3 separate regions of the Homo sapiens genome follow, and all the other regions are linked to region 1. Evidence: promoter capture Hi-C in 16 types of primary human blood cells and fetal thymus (Javierre and others, 2016). All regions are on one chromosome and are shown on one strand. Each heading gives the region's core, a stretch centred on a gene start or on the middle of the fragment in contact. The rest is flanking DNA. Distances are from core to core; before and after follow the strand shown. Region 1 holds the start of OAT (ornithine aminotransferase). Region 2 holds the start of CHST15 (carbohydrate sulfotransferase 15). Region 3 overlaps FAM53B (family with sequence similarity 53 member B).

Evidence for each region. Contacts are between HindIII fragments. The CHiCAGO score rates a contact against its expected background, and 5 or more counts as called.
Region 2: the fragment with the promoter of CHST15 here is called in contact with the fragment with the promoter of OAT in region 1 in 1 of 17 cell types (monocytes); the score reaches 5.2 in monocytes.
Region 3: a contact is called between a fragment that was not itself captured here and the fragment with the promoter of OAT in region 1, in 1 of 17 cell types (naive CD4 T cells). The highest score is 5.3, in naive CD4 T cells.

Annotation. Positions count from the first base shown.
Region 1 is chr10:124,416,964-124,420,408 of GRCh38, reverse strand. OAT (ornithine aminotransferase) reads left to right here and starts at 1,486. Exons shown (of 10, transcript NM_000274.4): 1 at 1,486-1,536. RefSeq lists an enhancer at 297-811 and silencers at 785-1,444, 1,387-1,926. The HindIII fragment of the contact is 6,386 bases long and covers 1-2,815 here.
Region 2 is chr10:124,091,837-124,095,281 of GRCh38, reverse strand. CHST15 (carbohydrate sulfotransferase 15) reads left to right here and starts at 1,684. Exons shown (of 8, transcript NM_001270764.2): 1 at 1,684-1,813. The HindIII fragment of the contact is 12,111 bases long and covers 1-3,445 here.
Region 3 is chr10:124,725,350-124,728,794 of GRCh38, reverse strand. All of the region lies in intron 1 of FAM53B (family with sequence similarity 53 member B), which reads left to right. Among named protein-coding and RNA genes, the nearest start is that of FAM53B, 17 kb to the left of the region's middle. RefSeq lists an enhancer at 152-291. The HindIII fragment of the contact is 3,243 bases long and covers 56-3,298 here.

The DNA of each region.
Region 1 (3,445 bases), core at 237-2,736:
GTCTTAAAGGGCTCCCCTGGCCTCTGGCCTCCTAATGGCTTCAGCCCATGTGGAAGCCTGACAGGAGATGCTCATTGTCCAGCTCCTTCCCATGCAGTTGCTGATGACTTTGGTGACCAGATAGCCTTTCCCACACTCCTCTCTTTGGGTTCTGGAATTCTGGAAACCCCACTTGGAGGCCGTTGGGCCTAGGATGGATAATGGCCCTCGCTGGTGCATGAGACCCAGGTTATTTCTCCATCCCTTGTGGTTTACTTGCCTACATTGATTGATTGATTGGTTGATTAAGATAGATGGTCTTGCTTTGTTGCCCAGGCTGGAGTGCAGTGGTGCAGTCATAGGTCACTGCAGCCTCAACCTCCTGGGCTCAAGTGATCCTCCCACCTCAGCCTTTGGAGTAGCTGGGAACATAGGTGTGCCACCACACCAGATTAATTTTTATTTTTTTTTGTGGAGACGGGGTCTCACTGTGTCGCCCAGGCTGGTCTGGAACTCCTGGGATCAAGCAATCCTCCTGCCTCGGTCTGCCAAAGTGCTGGGATTACAGGCATGAACCACGGGCCCCCACCACCACGTTTTAGGAAATGTTCACATTGGAGTGTGCCCTCTGTTTCCAGCTGGGCCCCCGACTGGTCATTGTGGTCTAATGGAGTGTGGTGCCGGCAGCTGCCAGCGCCTGCCCTCTGAGAGGGGTGGCGAGGGGCACACAGGACCAGACTGCCCCTACTGTTGGATGACTGGGTAAGTCGCTTTCCTTCTCTGGGTCTCTGTTTTCCAATATTTAACATCTTGTTGTGGGCTAAGTGAAGTCCAAGTCCCTTCCGATTCTAACATGAGGTTGTCCCGGAATATCTATTTTGTGTTCTGAATTTAATAACCGGCTGTGGAGGGCACCACAGGCAAATCTGTACTGTGAGTGGGTTGCTGCCACTCAATTATCTGACAGCAGCTGCGAACAGGTGGGCAGTGTGTTTTCCATAGGCAGCGACGACTTTTGGAGGTGGATTCAGAGGCACAACTAAGCCGCGCGGCGCATCAGGGTTCAAGGGCATGGGGCTCCCGCAGCTGTGGCTGGGGCAGAGCTGGGGCTGGTCCCTCCCTCCAGGAGCACAGGGCGGGCGGTCCAGCCTCACGTCTCTCGGCCTCCAGCCACACCCGGCCCGCGCAGTGGGGGGCCCAACAGACTTTTCCTTTTCGGGCCTCAGTCTTCTCGTCAGCAAGGGCGGACAAGGACTCTTCTCGTCCCGCCAGAGGAGGCGACCGAGGGGCCTGAGCTCAGGTACAGGCCGGCGGGCTCAGGAGGCGCGAGCGCGGATCGAATCCGCGGGAGGAGCAAAGATCCTTGATGCGCGGCCGGAGGGCGGGGCGGAGGACGGGACCCACGCGATTGGTATCCTGCCCTCCGCCCCAGCCAATGAGCGGCGAGGGTGTCTTGGGGGCGGGGCAGAATCAGCCTTTAAGTTGCAGTGACTCTCCGGCGTCACTGTTGCGCTTCATAGACGCCGCGTGTACCCGGTTGTCCTCAGGCGCTGTCAGGTACCGTCTGGGCGCCGCTGTCCTGGGGCTCTGGTTCGGGCCCTGGCCGGGGTTCCCTGACAGCGGCGGGGGAGGCGGGCGGGCGCGGGGTGGCCGCGGCCCGGGTTCGGGGGATGCTGGCTGAGGGGGCGCGCTGGGCCTCGGCCGGGGAACGAGCCCCGCTTCAGCGGCCCGTTTACTCTGCGGGCGGCTCGGACCCGGGCGCCCTGGAGTCTCCGGCCGGCGCGCAGCTTCAGGGGGCAGGGGCGTGGCGACCCACGGCTTGCAGGCCGGAGTCCTGGTTCCAGCCCAGAGCGGCCGACGGGCGGGCGGCAGGGAGAGGCTGAGGATGTGGCAGCCCCGCCTGCCAGACCGGGCGGAGCCGCCGCCCCCTGCGCTCGCGGCCTGTGGAGGCCAGGACTCGGCCCACCCGGCCCAGAGACCCCGAGGCGCCCCGGGGTTCCGGGTAGGAGGCCTTTGGGCACCCTTGGTTCCTGGGGTTGGCGGGGAGGCTGCGTTCTGGGGACGGGGGAGCTGTGCAGTAAACCGGTGGCCCTGGTCACGCGGCGGGGGCGCTGATGCAGCCTTGGAGGGCTGGGTCCTCCCGGCCTGCTCCTGCGCCCTGCAGATCGGCCTGCCCATCGCTCCCCTCTTCCAGCCTATGATTTTTTTTCTCCAGCCTCTGTCGAAATAAAGAAAATTACGGAAGCAGAACCTTCCTTACAGTAACGTGCAGGTTAATTAGATGGTGGGGGATGGGGGGGCAACAGGACTTTCAGCATGAAAACCTCCCGTTGGGGGCTTTTTGCAAACCCTGCTGAGCATCAGTAAATGGGCCTGGCCAGTGCGTTTCCTCGATCGCCTTCCCGGGCGGGACGGGAGGGGTCATTGTCCGCCCTTTGCTGGCGAGAGGACTGAGGCCCGAAGTCACCTGGGCACTCGCCCTGTGACCCACCGTCTCCTTTTGTCACTCTACATCTTACCTTTTCGGTGTTCAGTTTTACCTCTTAGATAAATTACGGTGATAAATTAAGGGCGAACAGACAGTGACTTTGGAATGAAGTGGCTTTACCTTAAGAAATGACTAATGTTCAGTTTCCAAATTCTAAATTTCTCCTTCTGGGATTGAAAGGGTTTCTGTGGATAAGCTAGTTCTTTCAGTTAACCCCGGAACTGTTCTTTAGATTGTAATCAATCGCTCTTAGCCATGTGAAATAACAATAGACTCCTTTCATTAGAATATCCTGGTTCTGTCTTTAGATGAATCTTTTCATAAAAACGAGCGTTAAATTAAAAAGCTTATTTTTAGCCCGGCACGGTGGCTCACACCTGTGTAATCCCAGTATTATGGGAGGCCCAGGCAGGCGGATCACCTGAGGCCAGGAGTTTGAGACTAGCCTGGCCAACATGGTGAAACCCTTTCTCTACTAAAAATACAAAAATTAGCCAGACATCGTGGTGCGCGCCTGTAATCCCAGCTACTCGGGAGGCTGAGGCAGGAGAATTGCTTGAACCCGGGAGGCAGAGCTTGCAGTGAGTTGAGATCGTGCCACTGCACTCCAGCCTGGGCGACAGACTCCGTCTCGAAAAAAAAAAAAAAAAAAAAAAAAGCTTATAGTTTTGGGTTTACAGTTTTTCATGGTGTTTAAGATTAGTTTTGCATCCCCCCCCCAAAGAAAAATCCAGTATAACTTTAAATAGTAAACATTTTTAAAAGACATTTTTCCCTCAAAGCAGCTGTCTTAATATGTATTATCCCCATAGCGTGCCTTTATTACAGTTATTTGTGTGCATATTTTATGCCCTTTAGTGAGTTCTTGAGGACCTTTCAAATCTCAAACATTTACAAATAGTGATGAATGCACGAATTTGGATGTGTGTGGAGGATGTGCTGTAGTTGACCCCGGTCCTTTCTCAGTAGTAAAACTAG
Region 2 (3,445 bases), core at 435-2,934, 330 kb after region 1:
GCTGCCTGGCCCAGGGCCTTCCTTGCAGACGCATGTACAACCAACCCTCTTTAACAGCAACCTGCTCTGTGTCCCCTGATGCAATTACTCGAGTATATAAACCTCACTGAAAGGCAGGCTTTTCTTGGGAGCTAATAAATAAGCCCCAAAGCCACAACGTGTGTGAGACCTTGAAAAATGGCATCATCATCTATTGGGAATTGTGAACCCTGCAAAAAGCAGCTCGTTGTATTTTCAGAAATAGGTTTTTGTTTAAAAAAAAAATAAAGAACAAAAATCACTAAGTGGAGTCTATATGGAAAAAGCAATCTAGTCTGAGATTCTAAGGCAAGTCTCTTTGCTGCATTCATCTTTCTTCGCAGATTTTATGTAAGAGGCATTATTTGCAGGAAAACAAGACAGGATTTTAAAGAACTCCCCTCTCATCCCGGTTTCCCATCTGCAGTTATAATCCTCTGATGGTGACCTCTGCATTAGTTGCCATGGGTGCTGAGCAGAAGTTTATGACCTCAGGGTGGACTGTAGCTTCAGGGGGGCGAGATGAAGCCTCCGGCAATAAAGAGATAATGGGGAGAAGCCACTGTCAGGAATGACCCTTCGGTGGCATGTAGTCTACAGTTAACGGAGCACTTTCATTTCCACTTCTGGTTGCTTCGAGGAAGAGGGTGCTGGACTCTGGCCACGGGGACACAGGCCGGCAAGAGACTGCAGATTCTTTTTGTCCCTTGGACCTCAGTTTCCTGAGAGGCTGGGCTTGGTGCTCCAAGCGCCCTCTGAGCGAATCTGCCAGAATTTCATGTGTCTTTTCTTTAACTGATGGCATCTTCAGCCCAGAGTCAGTGGAGTCGGCCACTGGTGCCGCTTTCTTGCCCTCGGGCTGTCCAGGTGGTTCCCTGGGGCAGCCGACTCCAGGCCACTGCGGCAGGCCGTGGCGATCGGGGTCCTGCAGAGCTTTACCTCCCCCGCGGAAGCAAAACACGCCGGGCCAAAGAGCCGGGCCAGCCTTCCCGGGATGCAAAAATACAACAGAGGGCGCCGAACTCACCAGCGCTGTGGCCTTGAATATTAATGTACGGGCTGGCTCCAGACCGCCAAGTTCCTTAAAGATGTCTCTGGCGGCCGGGCGCGGTGGCTTACGCCTGTAATCCCAGCACTTTGGGTTGGGGGGGCGGACGGATCATCTGAGGTCGGGAGTTCGAGACCAGCCTGACCAACATGGAGAAACCCCGTCTGTACTAAAAATATAAAATTAGCCTATTTTGCGTGGTGGCGCATGCCTGTAATCCCGGCTACTCGGGAGGCTGAGGCAGGAGACTCTCTTGAACCCGGGAGGCTGAGGCAGGAGACTCTCTTGAACCCGGGAGGCGGAAGTTGCAGTGAGCCGAGATCGCGCCATTGCATTCCAGCCTGGGCAACAAGAGCGAAACTCTGTCTTTAAAAAAAAGAAGTATCTGGCAAGGTGTCACTGCCAGATTTCAGGGGTTTCGATGTGCTTTTATTTGGAATCACCGCAACACACAAGCAGTGTTGACTCGGAGGGGGAGGGGGCAGGGGCCAAACCCACCGCTCGGCGCACACGCCTTGATCTCACATTCCAGACTGGAGCTGATGTGTGTCAGCGCGACATGGGGCGGGGGGAGGGTTCTCCTCGGATGTTTCATTCGCCGTCTGCACGTCACTCCCAAACTTTTCCTCCCAGCGCTCGGGGAGTCAGGTTGACGCGCCCTGGATGCGGGGCTAGAGGCTCGGGGCTGGGCGCGCTCCCGCGGAGCCGGAGCCGCAGAGGCTCCCGGGCTGGACTCAGGCTTCTCAGGTACAAGTTAGGTGCCAGACGCCGAGGTGGGGTCGGCGAGGAGCGGCGGTAGGAGGTCTGGCCCTGGGCTCGGGGCTCCGGCGCCCCTCCGCGGGTTCGGGCCAGGCAGCGCCGGCGGCGGCCGGGGCTGGGCGTAGGGAGTCCGGGCCGGCGGAGGCGGCGCGCAGCCTCACTCCCCGCGGCGCTCCCGGCGCGGTGGTGGCGGTGGCGGTGGCGGCGGCGGCCCAGGCAGACAATGAACTTGCGAGCTCGACGAGCCGAGGCAGGTTTGGGCCCCGGGCTCCTTGGCCCGGCCTCCCCGAGGCTTCAGCGATCCCCAGCGGGAGGAGTCCCTTCGCCATTGGTCCTGGCCGCGCTCCGGGCGCCCTGCGCGCTTGAGGACCCCGCGGGAAGGGTTACCCAGCGGCGACACACGCCCCCTCCCTCGCAGAGAGGACGCGGCCGGAGCGAGGGGACAGGGGACCGAGCAGTGGCGTGGTGGCGCCGTGGATAGCCGGAGGCCGGCGGGGGGCGCAAGCCGCGTGGAACGCACCGGCGGGCTGTCCGGGAGAAGGAGCCCAGTAGTCGGAATCGGGGCGCCCCTGCACCGCCCAGCTCTGGGAGCCGCAGGCGGGGGACCGACCGACGGACAGACCAGTGCTTTCACGGTGTGAGCGCGCGTCGTTTGGCGGTAGGGGACGGGGATTCCCCCCAGCCTTGCGCTCCGCCCCCACACCCCTATCGCACTTTGGGGAAGTTTCCAGGCGCGGCCCGGGGCAGGTAAGTGGGCATCCGCCACTCTCTCCCCGGTTGCGAGCTCGGATGCGCTTCCAGAACCCTGGCTCTAGCCTTGCGGCGGTTCCGGGCGGGGAGGCCAGAGCTCTCCCGCGCCTAAGCCCGTGGGACCCGGTTCAGGGAAGGGGGATGGCGGGGGCGGGCCTGGGAAGAGATAGGGGAGCGGCTGAGCCCCGAGCGGTGTGAACTTTTGCTCCCCGCCCCCTCCTCCTTCCTCCTCCCCGCCCCGCCCCCACTGCTGTCCCCTCCCTGCGCCCCGCCGCGTCTCGGGAGGCGGCGTGACTCGGGAGTTGCCGGCGCTTCCCGGCGGTGGCGGCGTCTCTGGCCGGCCTTGGTGCGGCGAGCCGAGCGAGGCAGCTCTGAGCCGCGCGGTGAGGCCAGAGGCGGGGAGCCGGGGCTGCGGGGCGGCGAAGCTGGGGAGCCGGATGGCAGCGGCCGGGGCGCGGAGGCGACGCTGGCGGTGGAGATGTAATGCGAGTCTGTTGGGTTGTGTGTGCCGGGAGATAGGACGCGGTGGCTGTGGGTGGCTGGGTGGCGGGCTGTGGCGCAATTGGCCCCCTGGGATGGCAGGATAGAGGCGCCGGGGCGAAGGGAACCTTGCCTTTGGGAAAATGAATGAAGAGCCGTGGAAGCACCTTCCCGACTCCTCCAGGCAACCGATGGGCCGGCGTGCGCGCGAGTGTGTGCGTGTTGAGGCTTCGGAGCCGCCCGGGTCCTGGGCACAGCTGCTTGACCTCCCCGTCGCTGTCCGGGTGCCCACGTTCCCGCCCGCCCTGCGCCCGGGGCCGGCCGGCGCGGCTGGGACGGCGGGTATAGAGGAGGAAGGCTGGGGCTGGGTTGCCGGCTGCTGGCGGCTGG
Region 3 (3,445 bases), core at 428-2,927, 310 kb before region 1:
AGAAGTAGGTTGCTCACTGTGGGGTGACATTTAAGAAAACCAACTCCATCAAGCTTTCCCTTTGAATGTGTTGTTATGGTACAAGAAGTCTTCGTTTGTCCTGGGCTATTTTGAAATAAAAGGCAGGAAACTCCCCTCTTGTTTCTATATCTTGCATAGAAGTCATCAAAACAGAATCCTCTGTTCTGTGCGGTAGTCGTGATTGAGGAAGCAGCTGTTCTCTTCATGATGACCCAACCAAAGCCAGCAGTCTGGAGGCGTCAGGGATCCAGAATTGTCTCTTCCATCTGCTGGGTTTACTTGCGTGTGTTAGAAGTATTTGGCATGGAAACTCTTTCCCTACCCCACCTCGTGGGCGAGGCCAGAAGGGAGCTCTCCTGGTGGGGGCAGGGCAGACCCCAGGCTCTGCTGTACTTCAGATAATGCCACGGTTTCCTCCATAGAATGGGTGCCACAGCCTCCCATGGGGCCAGGCTGAGTGAACGAACCAGATCAACTGTCTCTCCAAGTCCATGGGTGGGAAGGCAGGCCTCTCCTGTCTGTGATTGGGAGTTGTATGGGTCTGCTTTGTTGTGCATGGAATTTCACACAGTCTGAGCTGTCTAGGCATTTTCAGGCCTCCAGCTAACTCACCGAGTGAGCCAGGGAGTGGTGCCGATGAGAATGTGTGACTGGATCGCGAAGCCAAGCGAGTCCATGGAGATCTTCAAACCAAGATGAAACTTAGTCGTTTGAGTGTTTTCAGGGGTCTGAATCGTCAGCATCATTTAGACTGGAGTTTGCACTCTGGTGGTCTGGGTCTGGGGGCCAGATGTGGTCCTCAGACATGATTTGTTTGTCTCATATGATGCTTTACAAGTTTTTAAATTTCTTGGGAACATAAAAAGGAGATTGTGCAAAGAAGTCCTGACTTTCAGTTTCTCTTAACAAGTCAGGAGGTAAATTTTAATAGTAGCCTGGATCTTCTTTCCCAAACAGCCCACCACAGTTAGCTGTAGCCAGAGCCGTCCACGGTGGGCCAGGCATGTTCTCTGCACATCATCTCGGTTCCTATGCAGCATGCTTCTCTCATTTGTGTTTCCTGCTTGGCCCTGGAAGGCATTTGAGTTTGAGATCCCTGGAGTGGATAAGACATTGGGAAGGCAGATTCAGATTTTCTGGCTCTCCAGGTTATTGGCACAGGGAGAACGATGGTGAATGGCAGTGACTAGTAGAAATGCCCAGGATGTTTGCAGTGCTCAAGGTCATTGCCATCATAATCCTGCTACCTCGTGTTCCACCTGCTAGTAAACTTGCAAAGATAAGCCAGTACTCCGGGCACTAATAAAAACTCTGAAAGTACAAATATGTCCCTTAAATCTTGGAAGCTAGTCTCAGGCCAGGGGCCCTTCTACCCTGTGAATGGCCCTGTGATACTGGGTGACCTGGGGATTCATTTTGTACCCCCGCACCCCCCCCCCCCCCACAATCACTCAGGTGCTTCACCTAGTGTAATCTTCTTATCTACAAGTGCCTTCCTGAGGCTGAGGCAGGCAGATCGCTTGAGCCCAGGAGTTTGAGACCAGCCTAGTCAACGTAGAGAAAACCCATCTCTACTAAAAATACAAAAATTAGCCGGGTGTTATGGCATGCACCTGTGGTCCCAGCAACTGGGAGGCTGAGACGGGAGGATCGCTTGAGCCTGGGAGGCGGACGTTGCAGTGAGCCAAGATCGTGCCACTGCACTCCAGCCTGGGTGACAGAGTGAGACCCTGTCTCCAAATATAAATAAGTAACTAAATAAATAAAAAGTGCCTTCTGGATTTTAATAGATATTGCAAGGGAATTTTTACAAATAAAGATGTAATTTTTAAATTCTCATGACAGGCAGCCTAGCTGCTGTGTACCAAGTAGATAACTTCTGGTGTTAGACGGAAATTTCTTAGGGTAGATGAAACATGTATCTCAGCTCTTTCTTTTGACAGAGACTCAATACAGCAAGTAGAAGTAAAGCAAAGATTTGCCAGATGGTAATTAGTATTTTTCAAAGAATTGAGGTGTTCTCTTCGTATTTCTTCAAATATCTAATAGCAATCCCTCCTATCATTTATCTTTTTCACTCAACCCTGTTTTTATCTCTTCGTATGGCAGCTGTTCTGTGACTTTTTGTTTCCTTCTGATTCTCACACGTATTTCACCGCATAGTCAACCTTTGGGATTCTTAGTGTCATTCCAAATGGTTTGCTGAATTTGAGAAATGTAGCTTGTCAATCCATTGCCTGAAAGCCCTTCCCATGCCTTTCCTTTGCAGCAGAAACATGGCATCCTCATCTGCCTCTTTCTCACCTACTGGTCAGGGCATTGTGCACCTGGGTGGTTGGTTCAGCCTCTGATTCTGCTAGGCCAAGGCTCTGACGATGCCACTGTTCTCCTTCAGTGCATTCTAGGGACTGTTGGAGCTCCTGAAGGCCAAGGATCATCTTGACCTAGATTTAGATTTCCAGGGCCTGGCCAGAGGACATGCTGGGGGTGGGTAGTAGGCCACCCATCCAATTCTGACCTCATGGCTTTTGCAAGAAACTCAACTTTTATGGATCCTGATTTTCTCATGTGCAAAATTGTCCTCCCAGTTACTAGGGTTCTAGGTACCAAATCCACTAAAAATGTGTTTTTCAAACTTTAGGAACCACCGGACTCAACCTGGAGGGCTTACTAGACACAGCTGCTGGGTCCCACCCTCATGCAGTTTGTCTGGGGTCGGGGACTGAAACTTTGCCTTCCTAATGAGTTCTCAGGCAATTCTCTACTGATCCGGGTCCACGCTTGGAGAACCAGTGCACATTGCTGAAGCAGGTGCCAGGTACCCCAGTGTTCCCCCCAGCAAGGATGTGGGTTGGCCTGTGTGGGTCTTGGCTGCCTGGCATATGAGGCTCGTCTTTCCTTTCATTTTCCCACTGCATCTTATTTTCTGGGAAACTTGAGACTAGATTCCCGGAGATGTTTTGTTTTCCGTTCAGCCATCTTCATGGAAGCTGTCCTCACACTCTCACCGTGATAGTTGGAGACACATTTATTTCCTACCTTTAGGTAATTCTATCACTAACACACACCATCCACTGTCCATCTCGGTTTCCACCCTCCACCTGGAACCCAGATACTAACGGAGGCAGCCTTGGCGATTTTGAGTTTTGAGCTTTTGGTTTCCCAGATAGGTTGATTTTACCCGTTCTCACCAAAGACAGGCCGCATTTGGGTCGAGCTGACAGAGCTGTCATGGACACAGCAGGTTACCCTGTACTCGGGAATGCTTCATGAAGCTTCCCACTCACTGCCGTCAGTCCAAGGCTGGGCGCCCTTTGTTTCAGGTGCCCTGAAATCAGTGTCTCCGTGCAGTGGTGGGAAATAGAGTGCTTAACCATGTCCAGAATCAACTGCTGTACCCTTTCTTTCCCTTCCCTGATGACAC